Linked DNA regions of Homo sapiens: all the other regions are linked to region 2. Evidence: promoter capture Hi-C in human tissues and cell types (Jung and others, 2019). All regions are on one chromosome and are shown on one strand. The core of a region is centred on a gene start or on the middle of the fragment in contact, and the rest is flanking DNA. Distances in the headings are between cores, read along the strand shown. Region 1 overlaps ARHGAP26 (Rho GTPase activating protein 26). Region 2 holds the start of SPRY4 (sprouty RTK signaling antagonist 4). Region 3 overlaps FGF1 (fibroblast growth factor 1).

What was found. Contacts are between HindIII fragments. The study calls those that stand out against the background at their distance.
Region 1: a contact is called between a fragment that was not itself captured here and the fragment with the promoter of SPRY4 in region 2, in 1 of the 25 tissues and cell types used here (H1 embryonic stem cells).
Region 3: a fragment that was not itself captured here is called in contact with the fragment with the promoter of SPRY4 in region 2 in 1 of the 25 tissues and cell types used here (IMR-90 fibroblasts).

The regions. Positions count from the first base shown.
Region 1 is chr5:142,778,961-142,783,327 of GRCh38, forward strand. The region is part of intron 1 of ARHGAP26 (Rho GTPase activating protein 26); the gene reads left to right. Among named protein-coding and RNA genes, the nearest start is that of ARHGAP26, 11 kb to the left of the region's middle. The HindIII fragment of the contact is 8,142 bases long and covers 1-4,367 here.
Region 2 is chr5:142,321,986-142,326,345 of GRCh38, forward strand. SPRY4 (sprouty RTK signaling antagonist 4) reads right to left here and starts at 3,036. Exons shown (of 2, transcript NM_001127496.3): 1 at 2,859-3,036. It overlaps SPRY4-AS1 (SPRY4 antisense RNA 1), which reads left to right and starts at 3,308. Exons shown (of 4, transcript NR_120664.1): 1 at 3,308-3,385. RefSeq lists enhancers at 1,034-1,998, 1,999-2,961, 2,443-2,502. The HindIII fragment of the contact is 10,639 bases long and covers 1-4,360 here.
Region 3 is chr5:142,666,613-142,670,599 of GRCh38, forward strand. The region is part of intron 1 of FGF1 (fibroblast growth factor 1); the gene reads right to left. Among named protein-coding and RNA genes, the nearest start is that of FGF1, 17 kb to the right of the region's middle. RefSeq lists enhancers at 826-1,334, 1,335-1,842, 3,070-3,569. The HindIII fragment of the contact is 5,123 bases long and covers 1-3,987 here.

The DNA of each region.
Region 1 (4,367 bases), core at 1,476-3,975, 460 kb after region 2:
GTGTGTGTGTATGTGTGCCAGGGAAAGAGAGATGACAATTAATTGGATGTGTCCCTATTAGCCCTGGAACTGCTTGATATGCTTTCTGAGTGGCATGTTCTTATAGGTCAGATGGGAGATGGGATGGGGCTTTGCCCATATCTAAGAGTCTATTCTAACCTCCAGGCTCAGGGACTAGGAAGGAAATCATGTTTATTTAGGGTGAGAACAACAGCATTAGCAGCCAGAGGAATTTTTACAAATTATAGTGACTGGGGTTTACACATTTTTGTAGCACCTCAGAATGGAGAGAGAGGAAATGGTAAGGAAAACAGCTTGGCAGTGTGGGCCACGAGCTGTCATGGCATGTTTGTGTCTGGCTCATTTCACCTTGATTGGAAGGCACAGAATGCTGCCCTGGGTAAGCTGGAGACTGGGCAGTTTCCTGCTATATTTAGAAAGAGGAGATTCCTGGGGTTAGGGTGGTGTGTGTGTGTGTGTGTGTGTTTTCTTTGCCAGATAGACAAAGGTTTGAGGGGTTTGTGAATTCCACACCAAACTGTTAACTAGCTGGTTTCTCTGGGCCAAGCCAGTAGCTACTCTTTGACTCTTGCTGCTGCCACACAGCAAAAGCTCAAAAAACTCCTATTTTATATGGTTTGAAAAGATACCGCTGGTAAGTTTCAAAACTCATCTGATCTTGCTGTCACATCTGCTTTTAAGTTTACTGCAGGCTAATTTGAACACTTTGAAAATATGAACTGCCTCCTCCTCTGAGACTTCAGATAGATCTCCAAGCTGACTGAGTTGAACTTTGGCTGTTTCTGTGCCAAGGAGACTGTCAAACAGATAGGACCAAAGCCTTAGCAAATTCCTGACTGCGTATCTCGTTATCACACTTGTGGGTCAGGGGTAGACAATGAATATTAGTCGAACAAATAAAATAAGGCATTTTTACTTTAACTCATAGCTATGTTTCTTTTTAAAAGGGTTGCCTAAATAGGTAATACCTATAAGTTGTTCATAATTCAAAAGAGACAAAAGAGAATGTGAATATCCCTCCAATGCTTCCTGTCTCCTGATCCCCACTTCTTCCTCTGGAGGCATTTTATTGGTTTCTTTGGTATTTTTCAGATGTAATTTATGCATGTGCCAACAAATACACATACACATTGTGCCATATGTGCTGTTTTACCCTTTGCTTTTAATATATTAGATATTATTCTACATTGGTACATAGAGAGCTCACTCATTGTTAGATTGCATTGTATTCTATTGTATGAATTAAATATAGTGTATGTAACCATTCCCCTAATAATAAACATTTAGATTATTTCCAACCTTTCACCATTGCAAGTAATGTTGTTGTGAACATCCTGGCACCTCTGGCATGAGGCACATGAGTGACAAATTCCTAGAAATGAAACTGCTGGACCAAAGGGTATGTACATTTTTCATTTTAATAAGTATTTCATAACAGTGTTTCTGAAAAGTTCTAAGTGAACTGAATTTGATAAACCATGATTTTAGAGTAGGAAGGAAACTCACCATTTTAGACAGTTTATTACAGAATGGTCTCTGTAAATAAAACAATACTTAGAATTTTCTCCATTTTCCCCTTTCCAGTTTGTGTGTATTGTTAATTCTGGGATTAAAAGCCACAGCAAAAATCATTCCCTAAACTGAGACAGCTGTACCTAGAAATCAGTTGAATGTAGGATCCCAGAGACCTTGTTTGTGTTCCTAGTGATGGTGCTGTTGAGTTTTTATCTTTGTGCGGTGCGTGTAACATTCAGGAGATTCGGCAGGTTTGTTGAAGGAGGGCAGTCTTCTGCCTTCTGTGACCGGAGACCGTGACTCTGGTCTAGGGGACACGTTGCCTATCATAGAAGCTTCCCGGTGGGCACTGGAATTCCTGGGAGCTGGTGAGGGAGTCGGGAGTTTTGCATGACATCTCTCTCTGGCAGCTTCTCCTGCAGAGCTTAGCACTTTTCCCTGATAGAGGACAGGATCATGCCACATGTCCTCTGCCATCTCTGTTCCAGCTCCTGTTGATGTAGAAGGCTACATTGGCCAGGTTCCTGGCATGAAGCAGGCACAGTCCTTGTCTCCTAGATGCTCACTGTTTTGAGAGGAGGCAGGGAAACAGGCAGCCCACAGCACAAAGGGGAGATTGCTAGCAGTTTAAAAGGGCCTCTGGGGGAGGGAGCAGAGGCCTGTGGGAAAGGCAACTGAAGGCTTATCGAGCCCAAGGGGGCAGTGTGGTCACTAATGATCAGTCATGTGAAGGGTACCTCTGTTATTTTTGCCCCACCTCACCACCCTTTATTTACTTTGAAAAAAGTCTACTCATTACAAAATACATTTATTTCAAAAAGGAGCTTTTGAACCTGCATTCAGAAATTGCAAGTTTGATATGGTTAACTTTTTTTTTCTAAATATCTTCAAATAATTATTAAATCATAATCATTACATTGAAAAGTATTTGTCATTGTATTGCCTAAAATAATCCCATATTTCACCAGTGTTATGAGAGTCATTCTCTTCTTAACACTGTCCCAAGGCAGAAGTATGTGAGAGAATGGACACCATCTGCCCATCACACCTGGGGGAAAAGGGAGGGGAGCAATGCACTCCTTAGGCTTGGGTGCAGGTGTCTGGGGCAGGAGGCTGTGTGCCAGGGAATACAGTCTGCTGAAAATCTGTTTTACTCAGTGGGATCACAATTTGAATATTCAAATAAACACTGATAAGTTATAGAGTGGAATGCAGAATTCATGGCTTTTTTTTGAGATGGAGTCTCTCTCTGTTGCCCAGGCTGGAGTGCAGTGGTATTATCTTGGCTCACTGCAACCTCCGCCTCCCGGGTTCAAGTGATTCTCCTGCCTCAGCCTCCTGAGTAGCTGGGACTACAGGTGCGTGCCACCATGCCCGGCTAATTTTTTGTATTTTTTTTTAGTAGAGATGGGGTTTCACCGTGTTACTCAGGATGGTCTCAATCTCCTGACTTCGTGATCTGCCCGCCTTGGCCTCCCAGAGTGCTGGGATTACAGGCATGAGCCACTGCGCCTGGCCGATTCATGGTGTTTTTGAGAGTAGATGATCAGGTGTGGATGAAGAGAACACATAGTCAGCAGCATAGTGCCTGAGGAAGGGATGACAGAGGAGTTAGGGGCATCTCCAGAGTTTCCTTCTTAGGCCTTGGGAGGATGGCTGAACTGCATACAGGAGAGGAATCGTGGTGTGTGATGGGGGATACAGAGTGAAGTAAGGTTTGTCCTTGCTGAGTTCCTGCAGGGCATGCAGGTGGAGACACCCACAAGGCTGTGGGAAGCACAAGTCTGGAACTCTGGAGGAAGATGAGGGCTACAGGTATAGGTTTGGCTCTCTCCAGGTGGTATTTGAGGCCCTGGGAGTGACTGAATCTATAAGAGTGAGACCCACGCAGGGGTCCTTAGCCTCTGCTGTCCATTGAAATCACCTGAGGAGCTCAGGACTCACCTTCAGAGATTCTGATATAATTTGGCTGGGTTGCAGTCTGGGCATGGGACATTTTAAAAACTCCCCAGGTGATTCTAATGTGCAGCAAGGGTGAAGAACGCCTGGCATGGAGTGAGAGAAGAGAGTGGAAGCTGAAACCATAGGGAGCATCCACATTTAGCAGGTGGGTAGCAGAGAGTTGGAGAGGCTTTGATGACTTGATGTTTCATCCTGGCCAGTTTAGGTGAGGACTGTTTGGAGGCCTTTGGATTTGACCTTTGGAGATGAAACTGGAGAAAACAGCATAAGTGCAAGGGAGGATAATAAATATCTATTATACCTTACAATATTATTGTGAGGAGCAGCTGAGATAATTGTAGATATTATGCTTAGCAGTGTAAGCAGGCCTGTGGTAAGTGACCTGTTATTGGAATCTGCCTTTAGAGTGTCCTTGTAAGATAGTGGTTCTTAAAAGTGAAGGTGTACAAGAATTCCCCTAACTGCAGATTCTCTGGCTTTACCCAAGGAAATGCTGATGCATGAGCTCTAGGCAGGTCTGGAAACCCGAATTTCCTATACCCCCGCCCCCACTCCCTTCCATCTCACCCCAAGTGATTTGCATGGTGGGAGTCCTTGGACCACACATTAGGTCTAAATAGGTCAGCAGAGATTCTGCATAAATCTGGTCCCCAAATCCTGTTCTTCCTTAATGTGCACAGCTGTGCTCTCCAGCCTCGTGGGCACATCTCAGATATCTGGAGGGTGTTTGCATTACTGCAGGCCTAGGAATGATGCAGGAGGGTTTCAGAAGCGTAAAAGTTCTAGCAGCTTGAGAACATGTCAGCCAGTGTGGCTCCACGCCTGGGATCCAGTTGTTCCGTGAGCTTGGCCTGTGAGCGGGAACCCTT
Region 2 (4,360 bases), core at 1,786-4,285:
TTTTATTCCTCTCTTAACTTTTATATCACTGATTTTCAAATTTGGCACTGAAAGGCTGCTTTCATTTATTATTCACGAAAGTCAGCCAAACCTCTGGTTTACCAAAGTTGGGGCTGGGGTCATGGGTGGGTGCGAACTGGGCAGGACAGATTTCCAAAGAGCCACATCTCTCCGCCAATTCTGGGAGGATGCAGATAAAAATGACATATGAGGCCGGGCGTGGTGGCTCACGCCTGTAATCCCAGGGGAGGCAGAGGCCGGCGGATCATGAGCTTAGGAGTTCGAGACCAGCCTAGCCAACATGGTGAAACCCTGTCTCTACTAAAAATACAAAAATTAGCTGGGTGTGGTGGCACACACCTGTAATTCCAGCTACTTGGGAGGCTGAGGCAGGAGCATCATTTGAACCTGGGAGGCGGAGGTTGCAGTGAGCCAAGATCGCGCAACTGCACTCCAGCCTGGGTCACAGAGCAAGACTCGTCTCAAGAAAAAAAAAAAATATATATATATATATATAAATGAAAACGACATCCGTAAGCTCCAAATGTCCACCTGTCCACAGCCTCTGCCCTACTATGTGTTCTGTCTCCTCCCACCAGCCCCCAACTAAAGCTTCAGTGAGATGAGGCCATTTCAGAGGGTGATCTGGAAAAGGTCATGGAGCTGGGCAGGAGGGCTAAGGGCAAGAGGGCATTTACACTCCACTGAAAGGGAGTGACTCCTGATAACCAACAGATGCCTTTAAAGTCTGCTCACTGTAACTGACCAATATTTGTCCATGAAGATTTCAGAAATCTGCTACTAAAATCCCCACCCTACACCCGTACTGGCCACATGGCGTGGTTGGTAAGTGTGTGTGCTGTTCACCACATTAGGATTTGCTGGAGCCTCGCAGCACGTGAGAACCCTCCCAAGAGATGGGAAAGAGGAAATGTGATTTCACACTGGACATCTCCACTAGTTCTTTCCCACCCTTCTGGGAGACAGAGAGGGAGAGAGAAAGAGAAATCTTTAACTGCAGCCCTGCCTCTCCTAGCTCTCCTGACACCCGCCCTAAAAAAAAAAAAAAAAAGGCTGAAAATTTCAGAGATGTTTATGCTCCATTTGTGTGAAGATCTGGAGAACTCCAAACATTGTGAAATCCACCAGTGCAATATTGGGTAGGGCCTCAGGCCAGACTGAGCTCATTAAGAGATTGATAAACCCGCAGTTCCCAACTTCTCTGAGCCTTATACCTTCCAGCTTTGAATCCCGAGAGACTTGTCAGGGAGGTTAGTGCCTCGGTCAGCTACAGACACAGACGAGTGCTTGCTCCCGCCCCTCTGCAAGTTCTTTGGCCTCCAGTGTGTCTGGCCTCTCCCAAAACTGGAGAGAATCACGCCACTGATTTGGAGGCAGGAAAGAAGGGGATGCCACTAGGTTTGGGCACCCCACTGTACACTCTTCTTTCCAGCACTAACCGCGCTGGGGGGTACGGAAGCCTTGCTGCGCCAGAAGGCGGCCTCCTGCCCTCACAGAGGCCTTGGCAATATGGATGCCCCTCCAGCAGCTGGTGAAAGAGGCAGCCAGCAGCTCCCTACTCTGCCTACCATCTAGCCCCTCCAGCCCATTTCGCCTCTCTTGCCCATCCTTCAGCCCTATAAGCCACGCAACCATTTTCTGTCTCCCCTGCCTCTCCTGCCCACAACCCCCTGCCCCCAATCAAGGAGAATTGAGAAACCGTCTTCTTGCACAAGAGCAGCTACTGTCTAAATGCTTTTTGATCGTCTGCATGGAGGGGGAACTGGGCACAGCCCTGGACCCAGTGATGGAGCCAAGCTCTAGCTGCCCTGGCTAGCCAAACCCGCCCTCACCCAGCTCACTGTCCCCGGGGTCTTGGCGATTCAGAATTTGTCAGAACATACCGTCTCTATCCTCTTCTCTGTGATGTCAAGCCTGGTACCACCAAGAAGGAAGGAGGGAAAGCAGGAGCCTTATCTCTCCTACATTCGCAACCTCTTCCTCCAGCTCCCACACGCCTGGTGTTATGTAAACGCACCTTCAACCCCCACCGCAGCCCTAGCGCGGCCTGGGGGCTCCGGGGCCTGGCACAGCTCGGTGCCCGAGGATAGGGAGGTACAGGGTGGCCGAGGAGCCTCAGGCCTTACAGAGGCCAGGCAAGAAAAAGTCAACTGCAAGGCAGTTGCATAGCATAAAATGCGGCAGCGGAGCAAAGGTCAGACGGCGAGGAACCGCCTCGCCAAGGAGAGGGAGTAGGAATGCCCAGTCCTGAGCCAGCCCCTCGCTGACCATCGAGGGAGAGGCAGAAGGGGAGGGAATTCAGTCCGTCACGGCTCCGAAGAGAAAGAAAAAATCTACGTCGAGCATAGGCCGCTACGGCGGGCTGGGAGATACACGGCAAAGCTGGCACCGTGGGCACCGAGCTGGGAGGTGGGCGAGCCGCCCAGAGCGAGGGCGCCCCCCGACCCAAACGGTGGCTCCTGACCAAGCCCAGAGACGCCCGTTCCAGCGTTCGAGGCGGATGGTGGCAGGAGAAGGAAAGAGGCCAGGCCAGAGGCAAACTCCCGGGACACGCACGGGGCTTCCCGAGTCTCAGAGGGCGGGGAAGCCGGGCTTGGCAATGCCCAGGGGTCGGAAACGGCGGTGCCAGGCTGTGAACACCCCCGGCGCCGTGCCGGCCGGGCCGAGGGCGTCAGGGAGCTGCGGCGCACCGCAGCGACTCAAGGAGGCGCAGGCTGAGGGAAGGAACACTGAGGCGCGCCTAGAAATAGCGCACCATTTGCCCCAGCCCAAGGGGGGAGTCGCGTCGCGGCTCAGAGAGGGGCAGTTTCAGATCTCCAAACCAGCCATGGACTTACTTTGAGGAGCTGCAGGGTCACAAGCATCGCCCCACGTCTGTGTAAATCCTGAAGCCGGGGCAGGTTAGCCGCCGCTGTACTCGCAGACGCCGGTCGGAGGAACCGGCAAGGCTCCCTGCGCTCCACAGCGCCAGCTCCGCGCTGTCAGCTCAGCTCGCTACCTCCGCGGCGATGTTGCAACCACTGCCTGGGAAAATGGCTTTTTTATGAATGGGAGGGAAGGGAGCGCCAGTGCGCACGCGTGCCGTTCGCGATTCTATGAATGGGTGGGCACAACAGACCCTGAGCGCGCATGCGCTCCGCTCCTTTTTTTATGAATGGGGGGCGGGAAAAGATCTTAACCCGTGATTGCTGGGACTGGCTCAAGCTCCACCAGGAGCCGTCGTTCTTTTACAAAGAGGGGTGGAGGTTCCAGTGGAGGCTGTTGTTGCCTTTTTTTTTTTTTTTTTAATGAATGGAGGGCGGCGGCGACTGCTGCAGCTGGGCCAGCTGCGCGGGCTGCACCCCCTCCCAGCCTGCGAGAGGAGGTAAAGGCCACCTTCACGCCACTGCGGGCCTGGGCAGGAACCGTCAGTGTCGCTGGGGGGTGGGGGACGCTGCGGCCTCCGGATCCCGGGTTGAGAGCAGGGTGGTGGAGGGCACACCTAGATCTGGGGATCTCTGCCCCCCGCAGGCAGTCAAAAGGGGGGGCGGGAGGACCCCTACTGGGGGCCTTCTCTTGCTCTAGACCAGAGACGCCAGGCGGGAGGGGTCTTGAAGCTGCGTTTACCAAAAATTAGGAAAATGTCCATCATTCATATCAAAGGGTGGGGTGAGGATTGGTGAGTGAATCTGGTTCTTTTTCCTGAGGCTGAATCTCTCGTGAGTGCTGGCCGCCCCTCCCCCCATTTCTTGGGTGTAGACAGTGACTGGGCCCAGGCCTCTTCCGGCTCCAGTACCCCCCGGGGCGATTCTGGCAACTCAGCCAGAGGAAGCCTGGCCCTCGCCTCCCAGCGTTCCCCCCGCCCCCCGCCCCAGTGCAATGTCCGCAGTGCCCGGGCGTCTGCCCGCTCTCTGTCGCCCTAGCTAGGTGTCCTTTCTCTGTCCCAGTCGGTTTCCCAGCCCTCACAGGACGCTGGCCTGAGGAGCCTCGGTCCACCGAAGGCCCACGGCCCTTCGCTGTTGTAGGCGCCTTTCCCCAATATCCCCCACCTCTCACCGGCCTCCCCTCCGGGGAAGTGGGAGCGGCCGAGAACTGGCCAGGTGGATGGGTGGAGCCGGCTGCGCCGAGGATGCTGCCGGGGTGGCCTCAGGATTAAATAACAACGGGGCTCTTGAGCCGCAGAGGAAATGGAAATGGCTGGGGATCCTTTCTTCGCTGTTAATGATGGTGGCGTTGGGGGGCGGGGGTGAGGATCAGCTCAAGCCGGTGAAAAGAAAAGCCCCCGCCATTAGGCCTGACTCCAGGAAGGCGGGGAGCCCTCGCAGCAGGCCCTGCTCCTCCCTGGAACGGAGGAGCCTGT
Region 3 (3,987 bases), core at 444-2,943, 340 kb after region 2:
CAAGAGAAGCCAAACTCAAGCCAAGTAAAGAAATGGAGCAAGAGGCCTGGTATACCAGTTCACGCCTACAATCCCAGTACTTTGGGAGGCCAAGGCAGGAGGATCACTGAAAGCCAGGATTTTGAGAGCAGCCTGGGCAACACGGCAACACTTTATCTCTACATTTTTTTTTTAATTAGGCAGGTGTGTTGGTGAGTGCTTATAGTCTCAGCTACTCAGGAGGCTGAGGTGGGAAGATCTCTTGAGCCCAGAAGTTTGAGGCTGCAGTGAGCTGTGATAGTGCCACTGCAGTGAGGCCTTGTCTCAAAAAACAAAAACAAAAACAAAAACAAAAATGAAGAAAGAAAGAGACAGAAAAAAAAAAGAAAGAAAGAAAAACAGAAAAGAAGCCGGGCACAGTGGCTCACACCTGTAATCCCAGCACTTTGGGAGGCCAAGGCAGGCGCATCACAAGTTCAGGAGTTCGAGATCAGCCTGGCCAATATGGTAAAACCCCGTCTCTACTAAAAATACAAAAATTAGCTGGGCAACGGTGGTGACGGGAGCCTTTAGTCCCAGCTACTCGGAAGGCTGAGGCAGGAGAATTGCTTGAACCTGGGAGACAGAGGTTGCAGTGAGCTGAGATCATGCCACTGTACTCCAGCCTGGGCAACAGAGCGAGACTCGGTCTCAAGAAAAAAGAGAAAGAAACAGGCCGGGCGCGGTGGCTCACGCCTGTAATCCCAGCACTTTGGGAGGCCGAGGTGGGCGGGTCATGAGGTCAGGAGATCGAGACCATCCTGGCTAACTCGGTGAAACCCCGTCTCTACTAAAAATACAAAAAATTAGCTGGGCGCGGTGGCGGGCGCCTGTAGTCCCAGCTACTTGGGAGGCTGAGGCAGGAGAAAGGTGTGAACCTGGGAGGCGGAGCTTGCAGTGAGCTGAGATCGGGCCACTGCACTCCAGCCTGGGGGACAGAGCGAGACTCCGTCTCAAAAAAAAAAAAAAAAAAAGAAAGAAATACAGCAAGGAAAAATCGCCGGCTTTTAGTCCCTCGCAGGCTGATGGGGAGAGAGAAAGGGAAGATGACAGGAGCGGCTGTCCTCCCACTACCAAATGTCCCATGCTAAATATGCTGAAGGCCTCGGCGGGCTCTGAAAATTCCGAACTCTGGACTCTGTTCCTCCAGGCTCCCTGGGGCTACTTCCAGCCTCATCCACATGCTGTCTTGTTCATGCCCTGGAAAGGAATGGAGGAAGCGCCCTGGCTAGCCTGACGGTGACTGTCTTCCCTTTCTCAACCTTCCCATCCTGACTGTCCCCTCTGGCCTCGCTCCCACTGACTTGGGATGCCACAGCGGTCTTGCAGTCCAAGAGCCTTCCTGCCCGCCAGCCCACCCCTGCTCACAAAGGCAGACCTGTCTGGAGCTGAGCAGGCAGGCCCCTGGGGGAGGGCCTGGGCTCCACGCCACTCCCTTTCTTTAAGAAAAGGGACAGGTTCAGTCCAGTGAGGGAGGGAGAAGGAATTTCCCTTGTTAAATGTCTCCTCCCAGGCTCAGGCAGAGGCCATGGTAGCTGGGTGCAAGGAAAGTTCTTTGCTTCAGGCACCTGGTCCAACAGGGCTGTGTGACTTGGCACATCACCATCCAAATTAAATCAGACTCAATCAATTTGCATTCAACATACTGTCATCTAATCCTTTGCACAGTCAAAAACGTTTAGTTTCCCTTTGAAAACTGTGACTTCCATTTCCTAGGTAAAAGGTGTAGGAGAAAATGTGGTCGCTAAAGCTCCCGCATTCGTGATGTTTATGTGACCGTGACTTGTCACATGACCTTGGGGAGGCTGCTCTTGTCTTCACTGTCCCATCCTCTTGACACCCCTCCCTGCCCCGGCCCCAGTAAGGACTTATATACAAGGAACTCACCCAGACACAGTTAGGTAATAAAGGTGAAGTCATGGTCAAGGGCATGGGTTTTGAAGTGAAGCTTCCTGAACTTAAGTCCAGAAAGTCAATTCATCTCTCTGAGCTTCCTTTATAAAAGGAGGCCAGTGATATACCTACCTCACGTGTTTGTCAAAAGGTTGCAACAAGATAGTGCAAGGGAAGCACCTAGCACATTGCCTCATATAAATAAAATATGCATTCTAACATCTCATAATTTTAGCTATTATTTTTGTTGTGATTATTCAGGATGAATGAGATAAGCTTCCTGTCCTTGAAAGAAGGTGAGAAGCTAAGTCATAAATACCATGACAAGCTATGATAAGTGCTGTGAAGGTTGTGCCAAGGGCTGGGGGGATGGATGGAGGGCTGAAGAGGAAGGGGTCAGGAGGACTTTCTGGAAGATGTGGCATCTCAGCAGGAAGGACAAACAGGTTTTACATATGTGGGCATGGAATAAAGGAATCACTTGAACAGAGGCCCAGGGGTGGGCAAGTAGAGGGCATCTTCGCCCAGCATGCATGGCTGATGCCGCTGAGCGGGGGGTTTTCAGGGACACACAGGGTTAGTGCAAGCTAGCTTGGAGTCAGATCATAGAGGACCTTGAATGATGCTGTTCCAAAGCATTTAGACTTTTTTCTGCAAGCAAATGAAAGTGGAGCCAGTGGAGACTTTGGAGAAGGGAATTTGGAAATTCTTCTGGAAAATTGTTGGTTACTGGTAGGGGGCTGGGCAGAGCAGAGGCCACGGGGCACAGTATCCTCTATTTCCATCTCTGAAAAGCTCATCAGCCCTCAAGTCTTCTTGACTAGACTACAAGCCAGTCGAGGACAGAAGCATGAGCTTCCTTCTCACGATTATGTCCCCAGCACAGCCCCTGGGGCTCAATAAATGGCTGTTGAATTGAAATAGACAAAAGATCCTAAACTTGAGCCATGAGAGTGGAAGGGAGAGATGGCTCCAAAGACACTCCAGGAGAAGAATGAAGAGGATTCTGCAAAGGAGTAATCAGAGGTGACTCGGGCATAGAGGGACCGGAAGGATGAATGGAGAGGCTATTTACTGAGAGAATGGACGCAGCCAGGAGCAGCCCATCTGGCAGGACGACTGCTGCACTCGCTGTGGGGCGTGTCGCGGCTGAGGTGAACAGAGTCATCCATCTGCTGACTGGCAGGCAGTGGACGCGAGCTCTGGAGAGAACCCAGAATATGAGGCAGGCACAGGAGAAGCAGAGCAGAGGGGAAAGATGAGATCTGCAAGGAAGAACAGCCTGGAGCCTGAAGAGCGAAGCAGACAGCGGCAGCCACCCTGGGGGTCACTCCACACTCTGAGATCCCCAGTGCAGCCGGTTACCACAGAGGAGCAACCCCAGGATCCTGGGGAGAAGAGGCACAGTCAGGAGGAGAGCCAAGAAGTACAGGATCACAGCCTTCAAGGGAGAAGTCAGCTGGTCTGCACTGCCCGAAGCTACAAAGAGGTTAACCAGAGTGGAAAGTGGGTGCCGGAGCCTCGGGATTGATCTCCTGCCCCACAGCTTTGCTGTTCCCGTCACTTCTGCACACTGGCACTGAGGTCATGCTTCTCAAGAAAGATCTGCATGTGCCAACCATTGGCTCAGAAACCTTCCCTTGTTTCCTACTTCCCAGCTAGGAAGGCCAAAGTCCTTGGCCAAGTGACCTCAAATCTGGTGTGAAAAGCCTCACCTTCCACTACGTCCTTCCACATCCCAGCAATCTGAGCTGCTCCCTCTCCCCTGTTGCACACCAAGAACTTCCATGCCTTCCTATGTTGGTTCTTGCTGTTCCCTCAGCTAGGAAGGCCATTTTGCTCAATGTTCTGCTAATTAAAACTCTCCTCATCCTTCAAGGCCTATGTCAAATGCTACCTCCACTGCAAAGCCTTCCTTGGTCTCTCCAGTCAGTAGGGTCCTTCCTTCAAGGACCCACGGTGTGGTGCTTTGCCTAGTCATTACTTCATTCTTTCTACAATTGAGTTGTTGGCCCCCATCCACTCACACATGACAGCATGAGAGCAGAGAACATGTTTTATCTTTGAATCTCCCAT